Regions from separate parts of the Homo sapiens genome. Here regions 2, 3, 4, 5, 6 and 7 are each linked to region 1. The links are contacts of gene promoters, found by promoter capture Hi-C in blood cells and fetal thymus (Javierre and others, 2016). All regions are on one chromosome and are shown on one strand. Each heading gives the region's core, a stretch centred on a gene start or on the middle of the fragment in contact. The rest is flanking DNA. Distances are from core to core; before and after follow the strand shown. Region 1 holds the start of MAP4K3 (mitogen-activated protein kinase kinase kinase kinase 3). Region 2 has its middle 51 kb from the start of THUMPD2. Region 3 overlaps THUMPD2 (THUMP domain 2 tRNA and snRNA guanosine methyltransferase). Region 4 overlaps THUMPD2 (THUMP domain 2 tRNA and snRNA guanosine methyltransferase). Region 5 overlaps SOS1 (SOS Ras/Rac guanine nucleotide exchange factor 1). Region 6 has its middle 7.2 kb from the start of THUMPD2. Region 7 overlaps SOS1 (SOS Ras/Rac guanine nucleotide exchange factor 1).

Region 1 (2,700 bases), core at 52-2,551:
CCTCAGGTGTTATGTGAAACTGGAGGAGTTCAACTTCAGTTACCAGTAAGAAGATACACAACTAAATCAAGACTGCTGCCACATTTGGCAACAACCTCCTCTCTTCTTGGCAGTAACTGTGAGGCCAAGAGTTGAGTTGGCCAGGGAAGAGTGATTTATCTTCCCACATTTAGAAGTGGTCCCTCTACAACAGGAATGCTGTACCGCTACTGGACTTTGAATTCTAACCTTGTCAAACCAGTACCTTCCCTAAGTATTCAAGTCACTTTTTAAAAAACAAGTTTAAATGGCATCGCAGTCCAATTCGACTTAGAGAAAACAAAGTTGCTCTTTCCAAAAAAAAAAAAAAGTCATTACTCTGGAAAATTAAAAGAAACTGACAGGGGGATGAATAAGGCGCTAAAGGCTGAGAGCTGTCGATGGAAGATGGAGGTCGCTCAGCATAGTATAATAACTACCACCGAGGCCTGGTGGGCAGCAGCTCCCAACCTAGAGCGGACGACCCCAGGTTGGCGTGAAGCAGGCAGGTTTGACAACACCAGACCCCTGCTGTCCGGTTCGTCGCGCTGACCCTGCCAACGCAACAAACGCCCAGACCTTCTCTGCACTATGGATGAGCAGTGTGGCCTGCTCTCGTTCTGCCCTTCCCTGGAAATGCGCGCAAGAAGGGAGGTGGCAAAAATCATGTCCACCGGGGGGGCTCAGGTAAGGGCTGGGGAGGTCTCGGGGTTAAACATTCGGCCCTTTGTTCACCAAGGCAGCAGAGCCCTTGGCGTCCGCAGCTCCTCCTCCCCGACTGCTCCCTGGCGCCAGCGTCTCCCGAGGACAGGCGGCAAGGGCTCGGACGCCCAGGCTTGGCTGCGGGTCGGGATCCCACGGCCTCGGCGGCGCGCGGCCCCTGCCTTTACCTTGTAGACGTCGCCGTAGGTGCCGCTGCCGATGCGCTGAATCAGCTCGAAGTCCTCCTGCGGGTTCCGGCGGGACAAATCGAAGCCGGGGTTCATGGCGGGCCCCAGGTGCCCCCCGCCTCCCTCCCGGGCAGGGGAGGGGGGCCGCTCAGGGGGCCACACGGAGAGAGGGCGCCGCGGCCGGCTCCCGGCTCCCCCGGCGGTCACAATCACCCGGCTCCACGCTGCGGCCGCCGCCGCCGCCGCCGCTCCCCTCACGCCGCTGCGGACGACGACAAGCGGCCAATCGTCCCCGCCCCCCGCGGCCCGCCGCCGCGCCGAACCTGGTCACACCCACAAGGAGAGGAGAACCCTCGCAGCCCCTCGCTCGGGGTGAAACTCCAACATGGCTTCCGCTTTCGCCGCTCCTCCCCCTCCCCTTACTCCGGCTCCTCCAACCTCCTCCCCTTTTCCCGACTCCCGCCCGACTGCGCAGCCGCGATCCCGGAGGGAGCGCGCCAGGCCTGGCGCGCACCCGACCCCTTGCGCGTTCCGGCTCCGCGCGCCTGCCAGGCCGGGGCCGGCGGCGGAACAGCTTGGGACCCGAAACGCCTCGGCTTTTCTGCGGACCCGCGCCCGGCCGCTGCCGCCGGACGCTTGAAAAGGTTTGCCTGGCCCAGGGACCGGGGTTAGGACTAGCAGAAAGTGGCTTCTTTTCGTTTCTGATTCCCCTAACGACAAAGTTGGACCTTGGTCTATCTGGTCCCAGTTCCAAGCAGGTAGCATAGTGGTAATATCCAAGACAGCCAATGTCCCAGCCTTTATTATTTTAGAAGCAGCTACATGTAGGATACCATGGAGTGCTGCAGCCTTTCTGGGATTGCGGGGAGGGGTCACTAAACACACCGTGAGGAAAACCCCCAGGAAAAGTGAGCTGTGCTTGCTTGCCCCTGTCACCGACACTCGGACCCTTGGAGTTGGCCTGCCAGGGTGCAAAGGAGGGCAGGCCAGGAGGGCCGCGAGGGAGGTGTGTGCAGTGGGCAGAGCGTGAAAGCTCCGGGAGGAAAACACGCGGAACAGCTGCCCACCATCCCGCGTGGGAGGCAGGCAGAGCGCAGAACTAAAGCAGTGATTGACCTCCCTCTTCGAAGAGGGTTGGATTATCAAAGACGGGCGGGGACTGCGCAGGCTGTCAAGCAACCCTGTAAAGAAGGGGTGGAGAGTGGACTAGATCTATTACCGCACCTGAAATATAAACACGTGACGATCCGGAAGCTCTTTAGCTGTGACCTTACCTACCCAAAAACCCCACCCTGCTTAAGACCCAGATTGCGCGTCTTACATCTGAGCTATGTGGACTCCAGCTCCGATTGTTAATACTTGCCCAAGAAAGCTTGAGGGTAATGGAAGGTTATTTTTCTGTTCTCATTGAACTTCCCAATAGACATTTGCAGGAGCTTTAATCAATTAGGTGATGGCCACTTTGGCAATACCACGTTGGAGTTTTGCTTCAGAAATGCTTTCCTAATCCCCTTAGGCACCACACCTTCTAACCACTAATATTCCCTAATACCTCGTGGCTCCTGAGAAACTAGGTCTCATCAAACCTGTTAAGGATAAGTATAATAAATTAATAGTAGAGCAAACTACTTAGAGTTAACTGCTTCATACTTTTTCAAAAAATCTTTTGAATCCTTTTGCTCATAGGAAAATTGCATATGTACTAAATTCTCAAATTGTTTACTTTGAGTATCTGTTGACTAAATTGATGTTTGAAAATGGTTATCTCTTCACCTATATAAGTAGCCTTTCA
Region 2 (2,832 bases), core at 175-2,674, 290 kb after region 1:
TTCCAACAATCCATAATTTTTCTCTCAAATGTTTTCCTCGACTCAGCTCATTTTTCTCTCTGCCGAGGTGTTCCAGAGAGTGGTTTCATCCCTCCATTTCCAAAGGTCAAGGATATTCCTCTATCTCAGAAGCCCGGACTTCTGGCTGGTATCCTCTTGCTCCTGCTCACATCCCTTTCAGATAGCTGTCACAGCAGCCATTCAGGCAGGGCCAGTTTACCAAGGAGCATTCCCAGAACCTGACATGGAGCAAGTACTCACTAACTGCCTGGTAGCTAAGTAAATAAAGAAGCAAATGAACAAATGAATAAATAACAAGATTTGAAAAGGCTACTAACACTATGGCAAAATATGAACATGCACTAAAAAAACTCACCTGGATTTCTTAATTAGCAAGATTTCTCTAAGACTTTGCATCTCACCTAATTTTAGTCCAAGGGCTTTCTTGCATAGCTCTCTGAACCGACACATTTACTTAATATCTAAGTGAGCATTTCTTCTCAAACCTCAGTTTATTTTGAATCCCTGAGACTTAGCTTTTTTATTTTTTAATTATACTTTAAGTTCTAGGGTACATGTGCACAATGTGCAGGTTCGTTACGTAGGTATACATGTGCCATGTTGGTTTGCTGCACCCATCAACTCATCATTTGCATTAGGTAATTCTCCTAATGCTATCCCTCCCCCAGCCCCCCACCCCTCGACAGGCCCCGGTGTGTGATGTTCCCCACCCTGTGTCCAAGTGATCTAACTGTTCATTTCTCATCTCTGAGAACATGAGGTGTTTGGTTTTCTGTCCCTGTGACAGTTTGCTGAGAATGATGGTTTCCAGCTTCATCCATGTCCCTGCAAAGGACATGAACTCATCCTTTTTTATGGCAGCATAGTATTCCATGGTGTATATGTGCCACATTTTCTTAATCCAGTCTATCATTGATGGACATTTGGGTTGGTTCCAAGTCTTTGCTATTGTGAATAATGCCACAATAAACATATGTGTGCATGTGTCTTTATAGTAGCATGATTTATAATCCTTTGGGTATGTACCCAGTAATGGGATTGCTGGGTCAAATGGTAATTCTAGTTCTAGATCCTCCAGGAATCGCCACACTGACTTCCACAGTGGATGAACCAATTTACACTCCCACCAACAGTGTAAAAGCATTCCTATTTCTCCACATCCTCTCCAGAATCTGTTTCCTGACTTTTTAATGATTGCCATTCTAACTGGCGTGAGATGGTATCTCATTGTGGTTTTGATTTGCATTTCTCTGAGACTTAGCTTTCTAGGTTACACAGGAAGTCGGTGTCTCCCTGGACAGCTGTCTGCTTCTTGAATGGTTTCCGAGTGTCCCTTTGATTCACTGTTCTCAGATCTACAGGCATTTATTTATTCTCTCCTACCAGGAGCTAGTTCAATTTAGTTCAAAAAATATTAATTGTTCTTTTCTGGGCCACACTCTGTACCCTATTCTGGAGGAGGAAAAAATGCTATAAAATAGTACTCCATTTATTTGACATCCTCAAATTTTCATAAATTTTCAAAAACTTTATAGTTGTATGCATTTAATATTAAAGATATTTTAGCAGAGACTAAAATCATGATTTAATTCTGCAAAGTACACCGAGATCATTAGTACTGCTACCTCTTACGATCTACATCACTGTCACTCACTTCAAGTCAAGAAATGAATTTTTTTTTTTTAACCCATCGTTTGTTGCATTTTGGTCACAGAGTCCACCCCTACACGTTTTTTCTTTTCTCCTAAAGATGTATGTAAGGCTTAGGCAGATGATGACAAAGACTGTATTATTCAAAATCTTTGGGAGGCCAAAACATTAAAAATGATTTTGGAGAGGGGTGCCAAATACTGATAAAATAGACAACTAGAAAATATGGTAACAGAAAAAATGCAAAACATTTGGAGGGACTCCACTGAGAATGAGATGTGCAGAGCCTGCAGGGCAGGAGAGTGCTTCAGTAACCTTGGTGTGTGGCACAGCGCCCCCAGCTGCAATCAACAGAATAACTCTAGGTTGTTCGGCAGAAAAGGAATTCATTAAAAAAAAATTAGAATGCTCAATAGGGCCAGAAAATTAATCTAGGGGACTACACAACCAGGAACACCATCCAAACCATACAACAAGATGGTAGTTTCAAAGATTCACTGCCACCCCTGCCGGGGATCCACACCATAGCTTGCACCATGGATATTGAACGCTGAATGCTGTCCTCTACCCCAGCTAGCCCCTGAGGCCAGATGCTTCTGCTGCCTCTCCCCCAGAAAGTGGATTCCATGGTGCCTGGTTCCTCCGCATAGCTCACATCTGAATCCAATTATCATATGTCAGTGTCTGGCCCCCATTCTACCTATAATATAGGTCGGAAAAGCTGGTGTTCTGGTTTCTGCCTTGGAGAGGTGGGACTCAAACATTGGAAAATACGATAATTCACCACTTTGATGTACCCTTTGGATGCCCAACATCAATATCTGTTCTTAATTTGATATTTAAACTTCCTCCAACCAACCAATATTCGCATGTAAAATATGCAATTATACTTGACAGAAAAACCTGCTCATCCTCTCCCCTTCTGACAAGGGTAACACATCCATGTCAAGAACATGATTTCTGGGTGGCTTCCATTCCTCCTCTAGTTCCATCTGATATTCTGTAAGTTAGGGTTTAAACTATGCGATGGAAGTCTTAAATTGGGAGGGAGTTGAAAGTCATCCTACTCTTGACCAATGGGAGACAGGAGCTGGTGGATATTCTCCTCTTTTGCTCCTTAAGCAGACAATTCTGGGTTGCATCCTATACAGGTCTTCAGAG
Region 3 (2,757 bases), core at 234-2,733, 330 kb after region 1:
TTAGGCCATGAAGAGTATTTAAGCGCCCCACATTATAATTAGTAGCCAACATAAATTTTAAAAGCTAGAATCTTACTTTTGTAGCCTGATAAGGTTTACAGAATATTTTAAATGCTGTTATGAACCTCAAGAATATCTGGTCCCTGATACTCGCACCCCAAGATAACTTTAAATATTAACAGCTTAATCAGAATTATTCCAATATTGATCAATTTCATCAAGAAAAGACTTACCTGGAGTGATTCCATTTGGTCAATTTAATTACCTGATTAACTGATACATCACAGCTAAACTTCCCAATTTTACATATTATGCATTTTAGCAAAACTATTTATTAGAATTGTTTTCTATTGACAATTTATTCTAAAGATACGACATGTTCATATATCAAATGTTATTAAGAATAGCCTCTCCCACTATAAATGTTTTCCTATCAATTTTGCAGAAGGAAATTTGTTGAGATTTGATTCCTCTGTCAATTTTTTAGTCACAAATTTTACTACGTGTGATTTTTGTGTTGCCAATTTTGTGTTAATTATTTGTATCCATAATAGCTATTATTAATTGCATTAAATGGCTGATAGGAATTGAATTTGCTATATTTATTTATGAGATAATCTATGAGAAAAACAATTCTGAGACAATGAGATGGACTCAGGGAGATGGGGACGAGAAAGCCAGAGAGAAGATGATTAAGAATTGGAAAGGGGGCCGGGCGCGGTGGCTCACGCCTGTAATCCCAGCACTTTGGGAGGCCGAGGCGGGCGGATCACGAGGTCAGGAGATCGAGACCATCCCGGCTAAAACGGTGAAACCCCGTCTCTACTAAAAATACAAAAAATTAGCCGGGCGTAGTGGCGGGCGCCTGTAGTCCCAGCTACTTGGGAGGCTGAGGCAGGAGAATGGCGTGAACCCGGGAGGCGGAGCTTGCAGTGAGCCGAGATCCCGCCACTGCACTCCAGCCTGGGCGACAGAGCGAGACTCCGTCTCAAAAAAAAAAAAAAAAAAAGAATTGGAAAGGGGCAGATAAGAGAATGATACTCGTATGTCAAAACATTCTTGGGATCAAAACATTTAGTATGACAAACAATAAAAAATATATACCAGGTATTATTTTTTTAAAGTGACAAATGTCAGACAAGCGCAAATCTAAAAATAAAACAACACACAATGTTCTGATTTATTTGGCCAGTTATTACTCCATTTAAACCTACATAACAAGTAATAAATAAATTTATGAATTAATGAATCATGAAAATGATTGGTTATACGTCAACTTTATAAGATGGCTTTCAAAAAATAGCAAAGAATATTTTTTGTTTCCCCATACAAATACTTGTTTGTTCCAAATAAAAATACTGTAACCTTATTAATTTTGGAAAATAAAAACATAATCCCATACCCATAACAAAGCCACTATTAACATACTATTGAATTTTGTGTAGGACTTTGTTGTTATCCATTTTTTTAATATTAGCTAAAATTTTTAAAATCACAGATTGTGTGTATTATAGAGACTATAGAGAACATCGCTGTAACCTCATAATAAATGTTTTTTTCTTCAACTGTGACCAGACAACTCCATTCCAAAAAATCTTTTTTTGGAGTTTGCATAAGACATTTTCTCAGTGAAAACTGCTAGCAAAACTATCTGTACTATTCTACTGCTAAAGATAAAATGGACTGTTGGATCCCTGTAGATACACTTTTTATAACTGTAAAATAAAACGGAAAAGTATGATAAGAATACAGGACACTGTCTTTAAAGAATTAGGTTACAAGTATATAAAATAAAACAAATACTCATTACCTCTAATTGTGGATTCCTCAAGTCTGCTTTCCATCCAAAGTGTTTCATAATAGCAATTCCAATTACTTTTCCTACCTCCTGGAAAAGTACCAAGTTAAAGAAAAGAATACTAAAAATGAAAATTTTAAGTTTAAATGTCAGCAAAACTAACAGAGTAGCCTATAAGAAAATCAAGTCAGGCTATCTGATGGTAATTTAGAGTTCTGATATTAAAATTGTACATGAAAGCATTTCCTATTCAAGGCAGTAAGGCTGTATTTTACCTGCCCTAGCCCCCAGTACACCCCATGGCATTAATGTCTACTCATGCATAATCTCTATCCTTGTAATTTTAGGTATATGAAATAACTAGATTATGACCTGATAAATATGATCATTCTGGGTTTCAGGAAATAGATGCAAGCTGAAAGATTAACTATGTCAGCTACTATAAGCCTATGTGTTTAAAAATTATCAGATTAGTATCATTAGACTCACCCTTTAGGGTTTGACTGATTTTAAGGTTGATAAAGTATTCAGACCAATGGCCTTTAACATCACTGAACTTTGTAAGGGCCAACTGATGAGGTCTGGTGATGGCAACAGTTTGTGGTGTTCGCTCTTCTCTACATTGCTGAGACCTCATGTGCATTTGCAGTCTAGGTCCTGGTGACAATCCCATGTACAGGACCTGTGCAGAGTAGCCACTGAATAAGCACAAAGCTGAACTGAAGAGAAACCCCAAAAGCTGAGGACTATGGTATCAGGATTTCCAAATACAAAGGACATCTGTAGATTTAAGGAAATTTTTAGGCAGAAAGTATAAGAAAGTCATTACTTGGAATGGCATACCATTCCTCTTAAACATCTGAGGAAAAATTAAAAGGAAAATGTAGTTTTAAAGACATTTAATTCCATAAGAACTAATTGTCTGCGGCTAGTTATTTGTTCTGTGAGAGGTTTGCATC
Region 4 (2,700 bases), core at 77-2,576, 310 kb after region 1:
ATTTAGATGATACAAAATTAAGGCCTTCACAATTTCATTCCATTCCATTCTAGACTACAAATTTATCCAATTACAATAAGGAAAGTCATCAGGAGATTCTTTCCATACCATATCCAAAGAATATTTATAGAATTTCATAATTAAGTCTTGTGCATTGTTGAGCTTTCAATATTTGTTCATTTCTTCGTGTTTTTAGGGAAAGATGATCAATGTCTTCCTGCTGCCAGCTTTAACAACTGTAATTCACCAAAAAATTCAAAAGCTAATGTATTTTGGCACTTCATTTGTTGAATCCTTTGATTATAGATTTCCAGTATATTCTGAATAAAATGCCATCAAAATTAGGCAACTTTTTTTTGGTAAAGTTTATAGCACCACCCTAGGACACTTTGGCTGATTTACAGAGTAATTCTTTGAAGGCTTACACTTTAAAACCCAACTGATGGACAAGCAAAGAAAGTGTACTGTTATGCAGAAGCATTTTTTTTGCATTCAGTCATCTTCAACACAAATAGTTTGCAGTTCATCTGTTCTGTGTATATTTTAAAAAGAAGGCCGGGTACGGTGGTTCACGCCTGTAATCCCAGCACTTTGGGAGGCCAAGGCAGGTGGATCATGAGGTCAAGAGATTGAGACCATCCTGGCCAACATGGTGAAACCCCATACAAAAATTAGCTGGGCGTGGTAGCATGCGCCTGTAGTCCCAGCTACTCAGGAGGCTGAAGCGGGAGAATTGCTTGAACCCAGGAGGCGGAGGTTGCAGTGAGCCGAAATTGCGCCACTGCACTCCAGCCTGGCGACAGAGTGAGAGTCTGTCTCAAAAAAAAACAAAAAAAGTGGCCAGGTATGGGGTGGCTCACACCTGTAATCCCAGCACTCCGGGAGGCTGAGCTGGGAGGATCATTTAAGACCAACCTGGGCAATACAGTGAGACCCCATCTCTATTTTTTTAAAAAAGAAAATTAGCCAGGCATGGTGGTGAGTACCTCCTACAGTCCTAGCTACTTGGGAAGCTGAGATGGGAGGACTGCTTGAGCCCAGGAGTTCGTTCAAGGCTGCAGTAAGCTATTATCAGACCACTACACTCTAGCCTGGGTGACAGAGCAAGTCTCTCTCTTAAAAAAAAAAACAAAACAAAATTCAATTATTTTGACAAGTGTCTGTTTCAATGGACACTACAGCCTGTTTGGAGGTAATTATGAATTATATGGGTATAACATTAAATTTCAAGTGCATTTCTGCTCCATAGGTTTTAATAAGAATATTAATTTTTAGCATGATGTTGTGGCCCACCAAAGTAATGCATAAGCACACAGATTGGCAATGCCAAACTGAATTCACAGTAGCATTCACAAAGAAGTTGCATCTTTGACAGAAAAAAACCCTATGAAATTTCGAAGAGAGTAAAAAAGAAACAAAGCTACTACTGGAATTGACTTAACTGATTATCTTTCTAAATTATGTGATGATATTGATACAAAACTGGCAACATTTAACTATCTGCAAAGGTCTTCTGCTAATGAAGCCAGCACATTAACAGTACCAGCTTCATTTTGCTTAGGTGCATAACAAAACTCACAATTGAATATGAGCAAAATAAATTTAGAATAGCCATTTGATCTAAAGGGAAAGTCATACTTCACAGAGTGATATTTTAAATGCATTTTCTTCAGTTGCATGTGATAAATTGTTGGCTTTGGGCCTAGCATTCTTAGAATTACTAAGTTTTTATTTTTTTTCCTTCAACTTTTAAGTTCCAGGGTATATGTGCAGGATGTATGGGTTTGCTACATAATGTGTGTACCGTGGTGGTTTGCTACAGATCAACCCACCACCTTGGTAATAAGACCAGCATCCATTAGCTATTCTTCCTAATGCTCTCCCTCCCCTCCCACCTCCCCCTGACAGACCCCTGTGTGTGTTGTCCCCCAACCACGTGTTCTCATCGTTTAGCTCCCACTTATAAGTGAAAACATGCAGTGTTTGGTTTTCTGTTCCTGCGTTAGTTTGCTGAGGATAACAGCTTCAAGCACCATCCATGTCCCTGCAAAGGACATTATCTTGTTCCTTTTTATGTTTACACAGTATTTTACGGTATATATGTACTATATTTTCTTTATCCAGTCTGTCACTGATGGGCATTTGGGTTGACTCTGTGTCTTTGCTATCATGAATAGTGCTCAAGTGAACATATGTGTGCATGTATCTTTATTCTAGAATGATTTACATTCCTTTGGATATATGCACTGTAATGGAATTGCTGGGTCAAATGGTATTTCTGCCTCCGGATCTTTGAGGAATCACCACACTGTCTTCCCAACGGTTGAAGTCATTTACACTCCCACCAACGGTGTAAAGGCGTTCCCTTTTATCCACAACCTCACCACCATCTGTTGTTTCTGGACTTTTTAATAATCGCCATTCTGACTGGCATGAGATGGTTTCCCATTGTGGTTTTGATTCGCATTTCTCTAATGATCAGTGATGTTGAGCTTTTCTTTGTATGTTAGTTGGCCATATGAATGTCTTCTTTTGAGAAGTATCTGCTCATGTCTTTTGCTCACTTTTTAATGGGGTTGTTTTTTTCTTATAAATTTGTTAGGCCAAGGCGGGTGGATTGCCTGAGCTCAGGAGTTTGCGACCAGCCTGGGCAACATGGCGAAACCTTGTCTTTACTAAAAATATAAAAATTAGCTGGGG
Region 5 (2,700 bases), core at 159-2,658, 320 kb before region 1:
TCACTCAGTGAGTTACTAGATCCTGTCAATTTTGCCTTGTAAACTTCTTTCAAATAAAATCCACATCCATATTTCCATCCTTGTTCAAATGCACCCTTAGTTCAAATGTGTATTATCTCTTGACTGGACTATTAAACTAGGCTTCTAACTTTTCTCCTCACTTTACGTCTCATTCTTCTCCAAACCATTTTCCATTCTATGGCCAAAGTGAATTTTCTAAAATTAAAATGTGCTGTTACTCCCCTACTTAAAACTTATTGGCTGGGCACAGTGGCTCACCCTGTAATCCTAGCACTTTGGGAAGCTGAGGCAGGCAGATGGCTTGAGCCCAGGAGTTCAAGACCAGCCTGGTGAAACCCCATCTCTACAAAAAATACAAAAATTATCTGGATGTGGCAGTGTGCCTACAGTCTCAGGAGGCTGAGGTGGGAGGATAGCTTAAGCCCAGGAGGTGGAGGCTGCAGTGAGCCAAGATCGCACCACTGCACTCCAGCCTGTTAAGACTCTGTCTCAAAACAAACAAACAAAACAAAAACAAACAAAAGAAACTTTATCAATGGCTTCTAATTACCCAAGAAAAAATTTAAATTCCTTAGCTTAACATATATAAAAACTGTTCATAAACCAGTTGTCTCTCCAGACATGCCCTGCCACTTCCCATCATGTTCTAATTTAGTCTTTTCTGATTATGTCATTTACTTTTTTTTTTTTTTTTTGAGACAGAGTTTTGCTCTTGTTGCCCAGGTTGGAGTGCAGTGGTGCAATCTCGCCCCACTGCAACCTCCGTCTTCCGGTTTCAAGCTATTCTCCTGCCTCAGCCTCCCGAGTAGCTGGGATTACAGGTGCCCACCACCACGCCAGGCTAATTTTTGTATTTTTTAGTAGAGATGGGGTTTCACCACGTTGGCCAGGCTGGTCTTGAATTCCTGACCTCGTGATCCGCCCACCTTGCTCTCCCAAAGTGCTGGATTACAGGCGTGAGCCACTGCGCCCGGCCCTGTCATTTACCTTTTTAGCCTGAGTGTCAAGGGCAATACCTGGTCTATAGTAGGCATGATATATTTGTGCAATAGATAAGATAGGACTTAGACTCATAGATGCGGTGAAACAGATACAGTGGGACATTCCAGCCATATTCAGGAAAAGTAGCAGTCCGGACTGGCTAAAGCAAAAAGGAGATAAAAGGTTATGGTAGACAATCCAGTCAGAAAAGCAGGATGAAGCCAAATATCAATTGCTGTTAATTCTATGCTAAAAAGTGCACTTTAGCATAGGTTGAACTCAAAAGACATCAACAATTCTGAGTGTGACATGTTCAGAAGTGTCCTATAACTGGTGAGATTTGAAAAACAGAAGGTGAGGTGGGGGCCAGTGAACCCCATTAAGAAGTTATCACAGTAGTCTGACAAAGGAGACTCAATTAGAGAAGTCGGAGGAGGAATAGACTAGAAGAACATGTCAAAGGGAAATGAACATACAGGCTCTACCTGAGTGTGCACAGTAATACAAAGAAGCCAGAGATGACCCCAACATTTTAAACCAGTCAAATGTAACAATAAAGCCATTAATCGAGAAGAAAAACTGAAATGACAGGTGGAGGAGAGAAGTGATAGTTTTAGTTTGTATATCCCCTCACCTATTTATTCAAATTGAGTGCCTACCAGATGTCAAGCACTATAAGTATGGGGAATAAAATGTGGGTAAGATATCATCCCTGTTCTCAAGGAGCATCCAATCTAGTTATAGGCAAGTAAATAGGAACTTAAAATTCACAGAGCTAGGACAGGGTGCAAAAAGAAAACAAAGGAGTAATATCCAACTCAGCCCTGATGATTTGACAGTTCAGGTTGAGTGAGTCTAGAAGGATGAGTAGTGTTGGACCAGGCAAAGAAGGATGAAGGGACTAGCATATCCAAAGAGCCTCAGGTAAGAGTAAGAGAACACAAGTCGGATGTATCTACGAATAATTCAATAACAAATCAAAGGAAGAAATCAAGATATGGAGATATCCACATGAAATGTCCAGCAGGCAAGTAAAAACGTAGGTTTTGAGCTACCAACAGCATATCCAGATATGAAACATACTGTATTTTCAATCTTGTTTAGAATCATTGTTAGTGGCTATTTAAATAAGAATTGGAAGAACCTTACATATCAGCTAGATTATGTACACTTCCACCTCCTCCTATCACTTCTACTGCAAAAGTATCTCTAACTTAAAGTCAAAAGCTGTTTTATGTAAATATGCAAAAAGGACAAGTGGGGGCTGTGGTAAGGTGGAGATACATGACCTGTCTAAAGAAGGGAGCCATTTACTCAACTCCAGCAGTTTAGTGCCTCGCTTGAATACAGGCCCTAAATGACAAGACCTTCCTATTCTTCAAGAAAAGCCGAAAATTCAGGTTTTATGTAATATCTCCCATTTTCAAATATTAGCAACTAATTACATTTAAAAATAAAACAACACTATGCCAGCCAAACAAAATGCTTTTGTGGACAGATTTCAGCAAGGGCCACCAGTGTGGCAGAATTAAACAACGTCTGTCAACTCCTACAATATTCTTTCCACTGCTTCAAAGGATCCTCAGCTGATACCTTGGTGATTCCCCTGGGAAAGGAGCTGCTTTTGCCTCTAAGCAAAATGGCCCCTATTTGGCAATGCTTTATGAGTTCCTTTACACGTTTTTAAACAATTTCCGT
Region 6 (2,700 bases), core at 33-2,532, 350 kb after region 1:
AAATGGATTTTAGCACCGTTGAAAAAGTGTTCTCTGTTATATCTACACATAATCAGGCCTATCCTCTAATGATTTTCTTTTAAAAAGTCTGAAATCTAATAATTAAAAATTTACTATTTATATTCATATTTAATGTTACAATTTTTGCAATGAGTATGAATTACTTGGCTAAACAGAAAAACAATACAGATACAAAACAAAAGCATACAACCTGAAGCACTGGCTTAGGCAATCATTTCATTCTCTCGTAAAACATCTTTGAAATAAGACATAATGCCTGAAATTATTTGATGCCAGTTGAGCTTTCAGATCACAGACAGGTAACAATATTTGCACCTTCAATCACTATGTATGGCTTTGGTGCTCTGTCTCTCTGATCAGTTTAGATGATATGGAACTTCTGTCTCATAAACTTCGAAATCGAAATGTAGCCAGGTTAAGAAAAATAATTTTAAAAGCTGGTCCTGGAATTCATCTTAGGTACAAAATAGTCTGTTTACGAAAATTTTTTGATGGAGTTTAGTGAGGCTCTGAAGTCATAAACAGAGAAATACAGAGATAATTAAACTGTTCTGCGTAAGAAGTCAAAAGGAGGTAGGAAATACCCTAACGGGGGGGAAAGATCAGATAATGGGGAACCTGTGGAACAGCATCGTGCAAAGCTGAGACCAGTGAGGATGAGCTGGCCGTAAGAGACTCGCTGTGGGGTGTTGGCTGAGAACTTCTAAGAAGGATGTTCAGTGCTCAAATTTGTTTCTGGCACTGCCAGGTTAAACCATCTTTAGTGGTCCAAACTTTCAGTAAAATAAACAAACAAAACACAGCCATTTGCTTCAAATAGTAGGAGTGAAAGTACCAGGGTGATGCACTCAAAGTAAGGTGCTGTGATAAGGAAAAGGAGTGGCATCCTCTGCATGGGTTGTGGAGGTCTTTCAATGGAGTACATTCAGGAGAAGCAGGAAGTCAGAGCACAGGCTGGTAAGGGGCACCTAAGCATGTGGTCTGTCATCAGGGAATGCACAGAGAGGGGTGCTGGGTCATCATTGCCATAGAATGCGGGTGCAAACCAATTTTAAATCAAGATAATCCAGTTGACATCTGAGTTTGGCTGAATTTATTCCTCACTGACAATAGATTTTCTATAAATCAAACCTCTAATGCTTAAGTGCTTATTACTTATTGTTGATAGGTGTGGACAATGCAATCTTGGGCCAACTCAGGGCAGGTTAATTAATGGGGATTATAATCAGGGGTTGGGCCTTATAGTCTCAATTTTATATTTTGTGATTTCTTATAGGTTTTCCAGCACTTTGGGAGGCTGAGGCGTGTGGATCACCTGAGGTCAGGAGTTCGAGACTAGCCTGGCCAACGTGGTAAAACCCAGTCTCTACTAAAGATACAAAAATTAGTGGGGCATTGTAGTGCATGCCTATAATCCCACCTACTCAGGAAGCTGAGACAGAATTGCTTGAACCCGGGAGGTGGAGGCTGCAGTGAGCCTAGATCTCTCCACTGCACTCCAGCCTGGGCAACAGAGTGAGACTCCATCTCAAAAAAAAAATATTTTGTACTAGCACATTGATTAATTGTGTTAATCAGAATTGATTGAATCTGTTATCTGGACATTGTACGTAGATTGCGTTGAATGTTGTATTGGCTGTCTACGTTAGATGCAGGTTACAGTGTAGGTTTTCCAGAGTTTTTGGGCTGGGCACACACACTCTTAAGTTGGCAGCTTTCTTTTTAACAGTGGTGGTGAGCTTCTTTAAATAACGACTTCCTAAATTTGTGAAAGAGTGTGTGTACTGGGAGGGAGAGAAGTGCTGTTACAAAACCCCAAGGCTTCTTGTCTGTGGGTTGAGCACAGCCCGCTACGGTTTTGGAAAGATGGATTTCCTGGAAGACAACTTTGCTACTGAGCATCATCTAGTAAATAAAGTCCTAAGACACAGAAGTCTATAACAAATATTGGAAATTATTGTTAATCCAAACAATCTCAGATATATTTGACATCCATATGTTTTAATTGTATAGCCCAGTTATGTCAAGCAGAGTCATGTACTGCATAAAGATGTTTTGGTCAATGATCAACTGCATATATGATGGTGGTACTGTGAGATCATTATGGAGCTGAAAAATCCCTATTGCCTAATGACATCATAGCTGTCATAACTTCATAGCACAACATGTCACTCATATCACTCATATGTTTGTTACAACATGTTACAAACATATGAGTAACGTGTTGTGCTATGATATTATGCAGGTATAAACAAACCTACACAGACTGCATTGCCAGTCATAAAGAAGTATAGCCCATACAATTATGTACAGTACATAATATTTGATAATGATAATAAATGACTATGTTACTGGCATATGTATTTATTATGCTGTATTTTTAAATCATTATTTTAGAGTATACTGCTTCTGCTTATAAAGAAAAAGTTAACTGTAAAACAGCCTCAGATGGGTCCTTTAGCAGGTATTCTAGAAGAAGAGATTATCATAGAAGATGACTGCTCTGTGTGTGTTATTGCCCCTGAATACCTCCCAGTGGGTAGAGATAAGGAGGTGAAAGACAGTGACTTTGATGATCCTGACACTGTGTAGGTCTAGGCTGATGTATGTGATTGTGTCTTAGATTTTAACAAAAAAGTTTAAAAACTAAAAGAAATAATTTTGAAAATGGAAAAAACT
Region 7 (2,821 bases), core at 176-2,675, 380 kb before region 1:
CTAGACTAAACTTAAGGAAAGGAACTCTTTTTTTTTTTTTCTTCTGAGACGGAGTCTCGCTCTGTCGCCCAGGCTGGAGTGCAGTGGCGCGATCTCGGCTCACTGCAAGCTCCGCCTCCCAGGTTCACGCCATTCTCCTGCCTCAGCCTCCCGAGTAGCTGGGATTACAGACGCTCGCCACCACGCCCGGCTAATTTTTTGTATTTTTAGTAGAGATGGGGTTTCACCGTGTTAGCCAGGATGGTCTCCATCTCCTGACCTCGTGATCTGCCCGCCTCGGCCTCCCAAAGTGCTGGGATTACAGGCGTGAGCCACCGTGCCCAGCAGAACTGTTTCTTATTCATCTTTGAATCCCTGCTGCCAAGCATGGTACCTGACAATACAGTTGGCATTGATGAAGTGTAGGTTGAATGATTCAAATGACTCAAACAAACATATCTTCCACCTAAACAAGAAGCTTTATCCTTTGGAGTACATGGAGAATTCTGTGAATTCATTTTCACTTACATAATCAGTCTACTTTGTATTTTGTCTCTTAATTTCTAATGTTAAATCTCTTGAAACTGTTGTAAAACTTTGTGATCATGAATTAAGTCCCACAACTTAAAAAAATTAACAAATTAGTAATGATGAACTGTACAACTTCAAATTTGAAGTGGTCATGCAAATTTCACAACACATTCAATGAGAGGCATATATACAATGATACTTACATTAGCTGAAAACAATTTTGAATTGGAGACAAAGGGCTCTCTAAAAACTTTTATAATTAGATTTAGTTCCCTTATATATTGTCGAATTTCTGCCATAAATGCTTTTACCAAATCATAGTAAGTTTGTTCTCCTGAGGTGGAAGGCTCTTCGTCAGTTAAAGATAATATATTAATATCTTCTACATCTTGATGAAACATATCCATCAATACCTATACAGTCAGAGATATAAAAAAGTATAATAAAATATGAAGCTTTCGTAGAATTTGATGTGAAATGCTCTAAGTTCTCTGAATAAAGTTCTTAAATGATAAAAAAGCAGACAAACAAATTTCTCTTCTTGGATATATTGCCAGCATCCCTCCACAGCTTCTCTAAAACAGAATTCAACATGTGATATAACTTACTACACTCCTCCAAGTTCTCTATCACTACTAGTATTTATCTGTCTGTCTCTCTTGTTAACCTATTACTTCCAATTTGTTTCCAGATCCTGTCTTTAATTTCCCTGACTTGGTTTTCTCTGTTTTATACCCTGCCATCATCACTTTATTCCATGGCCTCAGTATCTCATATTTAAATGTTTATAGCTGTCTATTCGGCCGATTTTCCTACATTTGTTGGGAATAGGTCAAAATAAGCTATTATTTTCTGCAAGAAGTCTACTGTTACTACTCTTGCTACAACACATCTTTCCCCTTCTTGAGAACTTCTACAGCATCATATCTCTATAACACAATAAAATATTATTTTATCTTGTGTGCTTTCTGATTGTTTCATGAATATAAGTATACCTTCATCAACTCTGGAGCCTTGTTTTATATATACTTATCTTGCATCTCCTCTCTGTGTAAACATGTAGTAGGTACTCAAAAATATTTTATTTATCTGATTCATTAAAAAGCATCAAGTATTTCGTATTCGTGTCTTCAGTTAAAAATACCCAAACATTTGAAATTCTTCTTCAAATCAGGTGGGTTTTTTCACTCTATATGGCCACATTCTCAAAGAACAAATAAATACTAAAACATAATTTAGTGGAATCAGCAATCAGAAATAATATTCCAAATCAGTAAGAGTATAATGAGGAAAATGGAATGAAATGCTTCATCAGAAAACATTTTCCTTTCTGCAAAGTTGTTTTCATAAAGTGAACATCCTTAGGTAATGACTAAAAGCTTTAGACTCAGAGAGACCTGGAGTTCAAGTCTAGGCTTTGAAACTTCTCAGAAAATTCTGGACCAATTTCTTTATCCCTGTGAATTTCAGTCTCCCTTTTATAAAATGTAGCTAAGATCACTTACCTTAGAGGAATATCATAAGGACCAACGGAGATAAGCCACATATATGCTTAACCTTCAATAAGTGTTTGCTCTTATTATTATTATTGTAAAACCACAAAGTAGTATCTGAAGAAAGCTAGGTGCTGAAGTAAAACTATCGTTTTGTGGTTTTACATTTTGAAAAATTGTTTTTAAGTAAATCCGTAACCTTACAAATCTTTCAATCCAAATAAATTTTAAGAAATTAACTACTAGCTGGGTGTGGTGGCTCATGCCTGTAATTCCAGCACTTTGGGAGGCCAAGGCGGTCAGGAGTTCGAGACCAGCCTGACCAACATGGTGGAACCCTGTCTCTACTAAAAATACAAAAAAATTAGCTAGGCATGGTGGTGTGTGCCTGTAATCCCAGCTACTCAGGAGGCTGAGGCAGGACAATCACTTGAATCCAGGAGGCGGAGGTTGCAGTGAGCCAAGACTGTGCCACTGCACTCCAGCCTGGGCGACAGAGTGAGATTCCGTCTCAAAAAAAAGAAAAAAGAAAAGAAATTAACTATTAAGAGATTACTCTAATTAACCCTAGTTGCAACAGCACAGAAGAAAAAAACTGCATGACATATTTAAACACATTTTAATATTATATATCTAATGTCTTATTTCTATAAAGTGGTATCTTGAATCCCTACTATTAGGTTACTGGAGATATTCCCCAACACATAATACAATTTTATTCTATATGAATAGTACGTTAGCATCTAATAAGTCATAAAAAGAAACTTAAGAAAAAAATAGAAAAGCTCAGTTTCCTACCTTGTCAGCACACATTGCCA

Evidence for each region. Contacts are between HindIII fragments. The CHiCAGO score rates a contact against its expected background, and 5 or more counts as called.
Region 2: a contact is called between a fragment that was not itself captured here and the fragment with the promoter of MAP4K3 in region 1, in 8 of 17 cell types (M2 macrophages, naive B cells, total B cells and 5 more). The highest score is 15.7, in M2 macrophages.
Region 3: a fragment that was not itself captured here is called in contact with the fragment with the promoter of MAP4K3 in region 1 in 5 of 17 cell types (erythroblasts, naive B cells, total B cells and 2 more); the score reaches 8.1 in erythroblasts.
Region 4: a contact is called between a fragment that was not itself captured here and the fragment with the promoter of MAP4K3 in region 1, in 5 of 17 cell types (erythroblasts, total B cells, naive B cells and 2 more). The highest score is 7.8, in erythroblasts.
Region 5: a fragment that was not itself captured here is called in contact with the fragment with the promoter of MAP4K3 in region 1 in 1 of 17 cell types (total B cells); the score reaches 5.1 in total B cells.
Region 6: a fragment that was not itself captured here is called in contact with the fragment with the promoter of MAP4K3 in region 1 in 1 of 17 cell types (total B cells); the score reaches 5.0 in total B cells.
Region 7: a fragment that was not itself captured here is called in contact with the fragment with the promoter of MAP4K3 in region 1 in 1 of 17 cell types (naive B cells); the score reaches 5.9 in naive B cells.

Annotation. Positions count from the first base shown.
Region 1 is chr2:39,435,984-39,438,683 of GRCh38, forward strand. It overlaps MAP4K3 (mitogen-activated protein kinase kinase kinase kinase 3), which reads right to left and starts at 1,302. Exons shown (of 34, transcript NM_003618.4): 1 at 909-1,302. The coding sequence starts at 1,004. MAP4K3-DT (MAP4K3 divergent transcript) reads left to right here and starts at 1,433. Exons shown (of 6, transcript NR_037875.1): 1 at 1,433-1,552. RefSeq lists an enhancer at 496-575 and silencers at 906-1,265, 1,336-1,555. The HindIII fragment of the contact is 5,405 bases long and covers 1-2,278 here.
Region 2 is chr2:39,727,029-39,729,860 of GRCh38, forward strand. It overlaps a transcript of TMEM178A not described here. Among named protein-coding and RNA genes, the nearest start is that of THUMPD2, 51 kb to the right of the region's middle. The HindIII fragment of the contact is 4,148 bases long and covers 1-2,832 here.
Region 3 is chr2:39,766,614-39,769,370 of GRCh38, forward strand. THUMPD2 (THUMP domain 2 tRNA and snRNA guanosine methyltransferase) reads right to left here. Exons shown (of 10, transcript NM_025264.5): 4 at 1,811-1,888. Among named protein-coding and RNA genes, the nearest start is that of THUMPD2, 11 kb to the right of the region's middle. The HindIII fragment of the contact is 4,113 bases long and covers 1-2,757 here.
Region 4 is chr2:39,747,868-39,750,567 of GRCh38, forward strand. The region is part of intron 8 of THUMPD2 (THUMP domain 2 tRNA and snRNA guanosine methyltransferase); the gene reads right to left. The region is part of intron 2 of LOC124905994 (a long non-coding RNA gene); the gene reads left to right. Among named protein-coding and RNA genes, the nearest start is that of THUMPD2, 30 kb to the right of the region's middle. The HindIII fragment of the contact is 3,634 bases long and covers 1-2,700 here.
Region 5 is chr2:39,116,330-39,119,029 of GRCh38, forward strand. All of the region lies in intron 1 of SOS1 (SOS Ras/Rac guanine nucleotide exchange factor 1), which reads right to left. Among named protein-coding and RNA genes, the nearest start is that of SOS1, 3.4 kb to the right of the region's middle. The HindIII fragment of the contact is 3,710 bases long and covers 1-2,700 here.
Region 6 is chr2:39,785,156-39,787,855 of GRCh38, forward strand. No RefSeq gene overlaps it. Among named protein-coding and RNA genes, the nearest start is that of THUMPD2, 7.2 kb to the left of the region's middle. The HindIII fragment of the contact is 5,862 bases long and covers 1-2,700 here.
Region 7 is chr2:39,053,901-39,056,721 of GRCh38, forward strand. It overlaps SOS1 (SOS Ras/Rac guanine nucleotide exchange factor 1), which reads right to left. Exons shown (of 23, transcript NM_005633.4): 4 at 2,802-2,821; 5 at 714-923. Among named protein-coding and RNA genes, the nearest start is that of SOS1, 66 kb to the right of the region's middle. The HindIII fragment of the contact is 924 bases long and covers 964-1,887 here.